2 separate regions of the Homo sapiens genome follow, and region 1 is linked to region 2. The links are contacts of gene promoters, found by promoter capture Hi-C in human tissues and cell types (Jung and others, 2019). All regions are on one chromosome and are shown on one strand. The core of a region is centred on a gene start or on the middle of the fragment in contact, and the rest is flanking DNA. Distances in the headings are between cores, read along the strand shown.

Evidence for each region. The method cuts DNA at HindIII sites, captures the fragments that hold promoters and counts their contacts. A contact is called where the count stands out against the background at its distance.
Region 1: the fragment with the promoter of VSTM1 here is called in contact with the fragment with the promoter of NLRP12 in region 2 in 7 of the 25 tissues and cell types used here (H1 embryonic stem cells, dorsolateral prefrontal cortex, liver and 4 more).

The regions. Positions count from the first base shown.
Region 1 is chr19:54,062,647-54,068,117 of GRCh38, reverse strand. It overlaps VSTM1 (V-set and transmembrane domain containing 1), which reads left to right and starts at 4,221. Exons shown (of 9, transcript NM_198481.4): 1 at 4,221-4,374. The coding sequence starts at 4,341. The HindIII fragment of the contact is 40,052 bases long and covers 1-5,471 here.
Region 2 is chr19:53,821,709-53,827,022 of GRCh38, reverse strand. It overlaps NLRP12 (NLR family pyrin domain containing 12), which reads left to right and starts at 2,709. Exons shown (of 10, transcript NM_144687.4): 1 at 2,709-3,137. The coding sequence starts at 2,849. The HindIII fragment of the contact is 28,124 bases long and covers 1-5,314 here.

The DNA of each region.
Region 1 (5,471 bases), core at 2,972-5,471, 240 kb before region 2:
ATGGGTTGGACCAGCTGAGCCTTAACCGCTTTCTGTGGAACCTGCACTCTCAGCTCTGTTGGGATCTGCTGTAGGGCAGGATGGTGGCTTTCTTCTTCCTGTACTTTTCACTGGGGACAGAGGACAGAATTGGGCACAATGAGCCACGTAATACTTTTTTTTTTTTTCTTTGAGACGGAGTCTCGCTCTGTCACCCAGGCTGCAGTGCAATGGCAAGATCTCGGCTCACTGCAACCTCCACCTCCTGGGTTTAAGCGATTCTCCTGCCTTAGCCTCCCAAGTCGCTGGGATTACAGGCGCCTGCCACCATGCCCAGCTAATTTTTGTACTTTTAGTAGAGATGGGGTTTCACCCATGTTGGCCAGGCTGGTCTTGAACACCTGAGCTCAAGTGATCAGCCCACCTCGGCCTCCCAAAGTGCTGGGATTGCAGGCTTGAGTCACCGTGCCCAGCCCTTAATACATTTTTGATAACTTGAATCAATACTTAAAACTTCAGAGTCAGATTGAGTAGTAGGTGACTCTCACCTGCGGGGAACTCTTCCTCCACACGAAGGGAAAAACATTGCTTCCTGTGTAATATTTATTAATACTTCCTCTCCGTTCTTTCTATTTTGTGCTTCTGGACCAGCATTTAGTCCAATATTGGGATATACATATTTATTTATTTATTATATTTATTTATTTTGAGACAGGGTCTCACTCTGTCGCCCAGGCTGGAGTGTAGTGGCTAGATCACGGCTCACTGCAGCCTCGACCTCCCAGGCTAAAGTAATCCTCCCATCTCAGCCTTCTGAGTAGCTGGGACCACAGGTGTGTGCCATCATGCCGGACTAAATTTTGTATTTTTTGTAGAAGCCGGGTTCCACCATATGGCCCAACTTGGTCTCGAACTCTTGGACTCAAGTGATCCTCTCATCTTGGCCTCCCAAAGTGCCAGGACTACAGGCGTTAGCCACTGTGCTTGGTCATATGTATTTATAATACATTCTTTCTTTCTTTTTTTTTGGAGAGGGAGTCTCACTCTGTCACCCAGGCTGGAGTGCAGTGGCGTAATTTCAGCTCACTGCAACCTCCCTCTCAGGTTCAAGTGACTCTCCTGCCTCAGCCTCTCAAGTAGCTGGGATTACAGGCGCCCACCACCATGCCTGGCTAATTTTTGTGTGTTAGTAGAGACGGGGTTTCACCATGTTGGCGAGGCTGGTCTCGAACTCCTGACCTCAAGTGATCTGCCCACCTTGGCTTCCCAAAGTGCTGGGATTACAGGCATGAGCCACCACGCCCAGCCTGTATTTATAATACATTTCTTTTACATTTTATTTTATATGTTTCCAACATTTTACCCAGTTTGGCAGGAATTCCATTCTATCCATGGCATCCATTTGCTTGTAATTGGTAGCCAGTCTTACTGGTGCAGATGTAAAATGTCAACAGTTGCCAGGTGCTGTGGCTCATGCCTATAATCCCAGCACTCTGGGAGGCCGAGGTGGGCGGATCACAAGGTCAAGAGATCGAGACCATCCTGGCCAATATGGTGAAACCCCATCTCTACTAAAAATACAAAAATTAGCTGGGCGTGGTGGTGCATGCCTGTAATCCCAGCTACTCAGGAGGCTGAGGCAGGAGAATTGCTGGAACCCGGGAGGCAGAGGTTGCAGTGAGCCGAGATCTCACCACTGCACTGCAGCCTGGGCGACAGAGCGAGACTCCGTCTCAAAAAAAAAAAAAAAAAAAAAGTCAACATTTATGTTTTGTTGTTACATTTTGTTTTCAAGATTTGTTGCTGTTTCTTGTTAATAGTCTTATTATTTTTCGTAAATATCATTCTTATTTTATAACTATTGTCTCCTCTGTTATAACTCTGAGGATGTGCTTATCAAAGCAATATTCCTCCTCTTCCTCCACTAACCACAGGTTGGTCCTTCTCTATCCACAGACCACACAGCTGCCAAGGGTAGCATGCGCTAGAGCTGCCGATCCTTAGAGTTTCCTGTGCAGCCAGCATTTCCAGCTGTTTGAGAGCCGCACCAGGACAGGACGATGGCTTTCTTCCCATCCTCCTCACTTAGGACAGGACGGGGTGGGCACAGGGACCCATCCAGCAAGTTATTATTTTTGTAGTTATTAAGATAGAAAGTATAGGCCGGGCATGGTGGCTCACACCTGTAATCCCGCCTCAGCCTCCCAAAGTGCTGGGATTACAGCGGTAAGTCATCATGCCCAGACGATTATTTTTTATTTGTATACGTTTATGGGGTACAAGTGTAACTTTATTGCATGGATAGATTCCAAAATGATGAAGTTAGGGCTTTCAGGTATCCACTAACCCAGTGACACACATTGTATCCATTAGATAATTCTTTTTTTTTGATGGAGTCTTGCTCTGTGACCCAGGCTGGAGTGCAGTGGCGTGATCTCAGCTCACTGCAACCTCCGCCTCCCGGGTTCAAGCGATTCTCCTGCCTCAGCCTCCTGAGTAGCTGGGACTATGGGCGTGTGCCACCACGCCCGGCTAATGTATCCATCATCATAACACACAACCATTTGAATGAATCTCACAGGCATTGTGCTGAGTGAAAAAGGTCACCCTCAGAAGGTGAGGCGATGGACGATTCCATTTATACAAGAGTCTCAAAGTGACAAAGTGATAGAGACGTAGAACAGATTAGCAGGTGCTAGGGTGGGAGAGCGATTATAAAGGGGCAGCATGAGGGAGTTCCTACGTGGTGGTGGGACAGTTCTGTGTCTTGATTGTGGCGGTGGTTCTATAAAGCCATACATACAGGCAATAAAATGTTACAGAACTATACCCATAGGCAAAGAAAAGGGAGGAGGAAAAGAAGGTGGAAGAGGAGGAAGAGCAGGAGAAAAGAAGGAAAAGGAGAAAAGGAAATAGAAATAGAAGGAAGAGGAAGAGAAAAAGAGAAACGAATTATGCACAAACTGGTGAGATCTGAGTGACCTCTGGAACCTGGTTAAACGTGTGATGCCAGTGCAAAGTCTCTGGTTTTGAAAATGTGCCATACGCCGGGCGTGGTGGCTCACGCCTGTAATCCCAGCAGTTTGGGAGGCCGAGGCAGGCGGATCGCCTGAGGTCAGAAGTTCGAGACCAGCCTGGGCAACATGGCAAAACCTCGTTTCTACTAAAAAGAACAAAAAAAATTAGCCAAGAGTGGTGGCGGACACCTGTCATCCCGGCAACTCGGGAGGCTGAGGCAGGAGAATCGCTTGAACCCGGGAGGCAGAGGTTGCAGTGAGCCAAGATTGTGCCACTGCACTCCAGCCTGGCTGACAGAGATTCTGTCTCAAAAAAAAAAAAAAAAAAAAAAAGTACTGTAATTATAAGAGATTACCATTGGCCGGGCACAGTGGCTTATGCCTGTAATCCCAGCACTTTGGGAGGCTGAGGTGGGCGGGTCACTAGAGACCAGGAGTTCAAGACCAGCCTGGCCCACATGGTGAAATCCCATCTCTACAAAAAATTAGCTGGGTGTGGTGGTGCATGCTTGTAATCCCAGCTACTTGGGAGTCTGAGGCAGGAGAATCCTTAAACCCATGAGGCAGAGGTTGCAGTGAGCCGAGATCGCGCCACTGCACTCCAGCCTGGGTGACAGAGCAAGACTCTGTCCCCCCCGCCCCCCAAAAAAAGGTTAACATTGTGGGGAGCTGGCTAGTGGGTACACGGAAGCTATAAAGCTATAGGTATTAATGTTTGTTTGTTTGCTTGTTTGAGACAGTTTCACCGTTGTTGTCCAGGCTGGAGTGCAGTGGCACAATCTTGGCTCACAGCAACCTCCGCCTCCTGGGTTCAAGCCATTCTCCTGTCTCAGCCTCCGGAGTAGCTGGGATTACAGGCATGCGCCACCATGCCTGGCTAATTTTGTATTTTTAGTAGAGACGGGGGTTTCTCCATTTTGGTCAGGCTGGTCTTGAACTCCCGACCTCAGGTGATCCGCCCGCCTCAGCCTCTCAAGGTGCTGGGATTACAGGCGTGAGCCACCGCGTCCGGCCGGTATTAGTGTTTTAAAATAAAAAATTACATTTACAGAAAACTCTTGGCAGAACTTCAGATAAGGTAGGACAGAGCTCGGGCGGGTGGGGCCACACACACCGGATTCATGGGGAAGAAGTTATCATCGACGGCTTCTTGTTTCCTGAGTCGGTTGTGAGAAGGAAACTGCAAGAGTGGGGCAGAGAACCAGAGTGTCAGAGCAAAACCTCCTCTATCTGCACATCCTGGGGACGAACCGGGCAGCCGGAGAGCTGCGGCCGGCCCAGTCCCGCTCCGCCTTTGAAGGGTAAAACCCAAGGCGGGGCCTTGGTTCTGGCAGAAGGGACGCTATGACCGCAGAATTCCTCTCCCTGCTTTGCCTCGGTGAGTCTCCAGGACTGGGACGAATGGGCTTGGGCTGGTGAGAAAAACTCATGTGGGAGTGGCAGTCCAGGTGGAAATGCGGTGTGTGGAAGTAATGACTTCCAGGTGTTGCACACCTGCGGTGGGTGGGTCTGGGCTGTGGGTTCTGTGAGTTCTGCCGCCCACATGCAAGCGAGGAGGAGGCCGCGCTGCAGAGACACGGGGACAGACTCCGCTGGGAAAGGCAGAGCTGCTGTGGGGTCTCCGAGTCTGCAGCCGCTAAATACCGCAGTACTGCCATCATCCTCCGTCGGAATAGAGGAGGGCTGGGCTTAGGGATCTACAGGGTGCAAGGCTGTGGGCAAAAAGACAATTTTCTTCTCTCTCTCTCTTATTTATTTATTTATGTATGTATGCATTTATTTATGAGACAGAGTCTCACTCTGTAGCCCAGGCTGGAGTGCAATGGCGTGATCTGGGCTCACTGCAACCTCCGTCTCCCAGGTTCAAGCGATTCTCCTGCCTCAGCCTCCCGAGTAGGTGGGACTACAGGTGCAGGCCACCACACCCGGCTGACTTTTGTATTTTAAGTAGAGACGGGGTTTCACCATGTTGGTCAGGCTGGTCTCGAGCCCCTGACCTCAGGTGATCCGCCCGCCTCAGCCTCCCAAAGTGCTGGGATTACAGGCGTGAGCCACCACACCTGGCCCCAAGAAGACAATTTTCTGACCAGCTCGATTCTTAGGCTGATTTTAACCATCCTCCAATTGAACCTGATGTATTCAGACAGAGCTCACACTGTGAAACGGATGACCTGGGTTATAATCTCGGCTTTACTACATAGAAACTCTAGGCTTGACCCAGCAGAGCTCCACCTCCCTAAGGCCCCAGTTCCTCCCTGGTGCACGGGGGGTGCGGTGGACATCGACGTGCTTCGTCTGCTTCAGTTCCTTCCTCCTTTTCTGGGTGCAGCCCTTCCTTGTGGGGTAATGCTCGTCTCCTACACACATTTGCACCTTAGATGAGCATTTTTTTTTTTTTTTGACAGAGTCTTGCTTTGTCTCCCAGGCTGGAGTGCAGTGGTGTGATCTCAGCTCACTGCAACCTCCACCTCCTGG
Region 2 (5,314 bases), core at 1,460-3,959:
TGAAGTAGACAGATGTGGATTCAGCTTCCCCCAAGCCTCGCTTCCGAATTCCTAGAAATTAGTTTTACCACCACCTGCAGCAGTGGCGTGGAAGGAGCCTGCGTCGTGAGCCACTTGAGGAAGCTCAGATGGGGTCTGTAGGTAGTTCAGGTTTGCCAAACCTTTCTCCTCCCCTCTAATGATCACTGCCATCCCCACACTCCCAGGATGCACCCACCGCCTGCCCTTACTCAGGCATTATCTCCATCTCCTGAAACATGAAGGCTTCAGCTTCTCGCTCTCCCAATCCAGGCCTCCTCTGTTTGGTCTGCCTTCCACAAGGGCCTTGAGGAATCTTCCTTAACCCAGACCTGACTCCATCCCTCCCCTGCTCAAAACTGCTGCATGCCATGCAACAGAATATTAGTCCTGGAAGGGACTGGATGTGGGAGAATGTCTCATAAAAAGCTGTGAAGGTTTTTTTTGTTTTGTTTTGAGACGGAGTCTTACTCTGTCACCCAGGCTGGAGTGCAATGGCGGGATCTTGGCTCATTGCAACCTCCGCCTCCTGAGTTCAAGTGATTTTCCTGCCCCAGCCTCCTGAGTAGCTGGGACTACAGGCACCCGCCACCAAACCCCAGCTAATTTTTTTTTTCTTTTTTTGAGACAGAGTCTCGCTCTGTTGCCCAGGCTGGAGTGCAGTGGCGCAGTCTCGGCTCACTGCAACCTCTGCTTCCCGGGTTCAAGTGATTCTCCTGCCTCAGCCTCCCAAGTAGCTGGGATTACAGGTGCGTGCCACCAAGCCCGGCTAATTTTTGTATTTTTAGTAGAGACGGGGTTTCACCATGTTGGCCAGGCTGGTCTCAAACTCCTGACCTCAGGTGATCTGCCCGCCTCAGTCTCCCAAAGTGCTGGGATTACAGGTGTGAGCCACTGCGCCTGGCTATGAAGGCTTTTGTGTGTGTGTGTGTGTGTGTGTGTGTGTGTGTGTGTGTGTGTGTGTGTCTGAGGGGTCTTAATTGATTAGGAGCATGAAACAAAGTTGGCATGATGCAGGAGACAGAGGGAATTATAAACTTGCTCTTCCATCAGAATTCATAAATTCTGCTAACACATATTTTGTAGAGATGGGGCCTCACTGTGTTGACCAGTCTGGTGTGAAACTCCTGGCCTCAGGTGATCTACCTGCCTTGGCCTCCCCAAGTGCTAGGATTACAGGCATGAGCCATTGCACCCAGTCACATCTTCCTCTTACACTAACCCTCCTGTCTTCTTCTTATAAAGACTCTTGTGGCTGGGTGCGGTGGCTCACGCCTGTAATCCCAGCACTTTGGGAGGCTGAGGCAGGTGGATCACGAAGTCAGGAGATCAAGACCATCCTGGCTAACATGGTGAAACCCCATCTCTACTAAAAATACAAAAAAAAGAGAATTAGCCAGGCGTGTTGGCGGGCACCTGTAGTCCCAGCTATACGGAAGGCTGAGGCAGGAGAATGGTGTGAACCTGGGAGGCGGAGCTTGCAGTGATCCGAGTTCGTGCCACTGCACTCCAGCCTGGGCAACAGAGCAAGACTCTGTCTCAAAAAAAAGACTCTTGTGATTCCATGGGTCCTGCCCAGATAACCAGGATAATGTCCCCATCTGAAGTGCCTTCATTTGGTCACATATGCTAAGTCTCTTTTGCTATGTAGGGTGAAATGTCACAGGTTCTGGCCATTAGGACATGAATATCTTTGGGGACCATCATCCTGCCTACCGCAAAGTCCCTCTCATGCCACTCTTGTGACTGAGAGAACAGAAAAAAAATAGCAGACCTACGTGAGGTCCTTAATAATTCTCCCTGAGGCTGGGCTCAGTGGCTCATGCCTGTAATCCCAGCACTTTGGAAGGCTGAGGTGGGCGGATCGTTTGAGCTCAGGAGTTCAAGGCCAGCCTGGGCAACATAAGAAGACCTTGTCTCTACCAAAACTACAAAAACTTAGCTGGGCATGGTGGCGCATGTCTGTGGTCCCAGCTACTTGAGAGGCTGAGGTGGGAGAATCGCTGGAACCTGGGAGGCGGAGGTTGCAGTGAGCTGAGATCACGCCAGTGAACTCTAGCCTGGGTGGCAGAGTGAGACTCTGACTCAAAGAAAAAAAAAAAAAAAAAAGCCAGGGACGGTGGCTCACACCTGTAATCCTAGCACTTTGGAAGGCTGAGGCGGGTGGATCACCTGAGGTCAGGAGTTCGAGACCAGCCTGACCAACATGGTGAAACCCTGTCTCTTCTAAAACCACAAAAATTAGCTGGGTGTGGTGTCCGGCGCCTGTAATCCCAGCTACTCAAGGGAAGCTGAGGTGGGAGAATCGCTTGAACCTGGGAGGCAGAGGTTGCGGTGAGCCAAGATCGCAGAGCCAGGGCCACAGAGTAAGACTCTGTCTCAAAAAAAAAAAAATTCTCCCTGGAAGAGGCGCAGTCGCAGTTTTGATAATACACTCTACCACACACACTAGTGAAATGAGGAAAACAAGAGGAAAGCGGAAAGAGAGTGACTGTTTTGTCAAGAGATCCAGGAAGAGACAGCAGAAGTGAAAATCTTTTTCATCAGCCAAGTGGCTCCTCGGATTTCTTAATCTCCCCCCGAACTTCCTCTTCTCCACCCAGAACAGCCATTGGTGAGTGGGGCAGGGCAGGAGGGAACTGAAGAGTGAGAAAGCATTATTTCAGCAAAAGGTCTTTCCTCCCTTGCTCTCTCCTCCAACCACTGGCTCAGCCTCTCCGCCCGCTGCCTGTGAATGATGCAATGGAAGGTGTGCTGGGGTCGCCCTGTGTCCCGTGCATAGGAGCATCTCAGCCTCCAGGTCCTCTCCTTTGGGGCTCACGGCACCCCCATGCTACGAACCGCAGGCAGGGACGGCCTCTGTCGCCTGTCCACCTACTTGGAAGAACTCGAGGCTGTGGAACTGAAGAAGTTCAAGTTATACCTGGGGACCGCGACAGAGCTGGGAGAAGGCAAGATCCCCTGGGGAAGCATGGAGAAGGCCGGTCCCCTGGAAATGGCCCAGCTGCTCATCACCCACTTCGGGCCAGAGGAGGCCTGGAGGTTGGCTCTCAGCACCTTTGAGCGGATAAACAGGAAGGACCTGTGGGAGAGAGGACAGAGAGAGGACCTGGTGAGGGGTAAGGAGGTGGCGGGACAGGCAAGGCTAGAATGCCAGCCGGGTCCAGTGACTCATACCTGTAATCTCAGCACTTTGGGAGGCTGAAGAGGGCAGATCACTTGAGGTGAGGAGTTCAAGACCAGTCTGGACAACATAGTGAGGCTCTGTCTCTACCAAAAATAAAAAAAATTAGCCAGGTGTGGTGGTATACGTCTGTGATCCCAGCTTCTCAGGAGGCTGAGGTGGGAGGATCACTTGAGACCAGAAGGTCGAGGCTGCGGTGAGCTATGATCCTGCCACTGCACCCCAGCCTAGGTGACAGAACGAGACCTTGCCTCAAATATTTAAAATATATTTTTTTAAAATATATATATTTAAAATATATGTTTTAAATATATATTTTAAATAAATATATTTTAAAATATATATTTTAAATATATATTTAAAATATATATTTAAAACATATATTTTAAATATATATATTTAAAACATATATTTTAAATATATATTTAAAATATGTATATAATTATATTATTAAATATATATTAAATATGGTATATATTATATATAAATATAGTATATATTTATTATATAAATATACTATATTATATAAATATGGTATATTATATAAATATATATAAATAATAAATATTATATATTAAATATTTAATACATATATTATTAAAATAAATATTTAAAATACATATATATAAAATCCCTGAGCCTGGGAGATCTGGAATTTATATATATATACACACACGTATATATATGTGTATATATGTGTATATATATGTGTGTGTATATGTGTGTGTGTATATATATTTTAAGAGATGAGGTAGCCAGGTGCAGTGGCTCACACCTATAATCCCAGCACTTTGGGAGGCCAAGGCGGGTGGGTCACCTGAGGTCAGGAATTCGAGATCAGTCTGGCCAACATAGCAAAACCCTGTCTCTACTAAAAATACAAAAATTAGCCAGGCGTGGTGGCACACGCTTATAGTCCCAGCTACATGGGAGGCTGAGGCAGGAGAATCGCTTGAACCTGAGAGGTGGAGATTGCAGTGAGTTGAGATTGCACCACTGTACTCCAGGCTGGGTAACAGAGTGAAACCCCATCTCAAAAATAAATTAAGAAAGAGATGAGGTATCCTTTTTTTTTTTTTTTTTTAAGACTGAGTCTCGCTCTGTTGCCCAGGCTGGAGTGCAGTGGCGCAATCTCCGCTCACTGCAACCTCCGTCTCCCAGGTTCAAGCAATTTTCTGCCTCAGCATCCCGAGTAGCTGAGATTACAGGTACCTGCCACCATGCCTGGCTAATTTTTTGTATTTGTATTTTTTGTAGAGACGGGGTTTCACTATCTTGGCCAGGCTGGTCTTGAACTTCTGACCTCGTGATCCACCCACCTCAGCCTCCCAAAGTGCTGGGATTACGGGCATAAGCCACTGTGCCCGGCCAAGATGAGGTGTCCTTATGTTGCCCGGGCTGGTCTTGAACTCCTGGGCTCAAGCGAGCTTCCACCTTAGCCTCCCAAAGTGCTGGGATTACAGGCATGAATGACCACTGCCTGGCCACCAATTCCCTTTTCTTTCATACTAATCCCTGAGCCTGGGAGATCTGGAATTCTAATTTACGTACACACACATCTATATCTATATAAAAATTTCAACTTTTAGATTCAAGGGGTACATGTGCAGGTTTGTTACATGGGTATATTGAGTGATGCTGAGATTCAGAGTAAGATTGATCCTATCATGCAGGTACTTGAACATAGTAATAGTACCCAATGGTGAGATTTCTCCCCGCCACGAGTCCCCAGTGTCTCTTCTTCCCATCTTTCTGTCCATGAGAACCCAATGTTTAGCTTCCACTTATAAGTGAGAACATGCAGTCTTTGGTTTTCTATTCCTGCATTAGTTTGCTTTGGATAATGGCCTCCAGCTGCGTCCATGTTACTGCAAAGAACATGATTTTGTTCTTTTTTATGACTGTGTACAGAATTCTAATTTCATCCCTTTGGTCTTTGTTCATGCTGTGTTCTGCCTGGAATATTCTCCATCTTCTTTGCCTGGAAAAGTATTACTTACTGAAACCTTGAAGCCACTACCTTCTCTAAAGTAAAGTATTTACTCCTCTTCCCCCACTCCTTCTGATTCCTCGCTCCCACCACTCTGGCTGGCTCAGAAACCCCACTTCTGT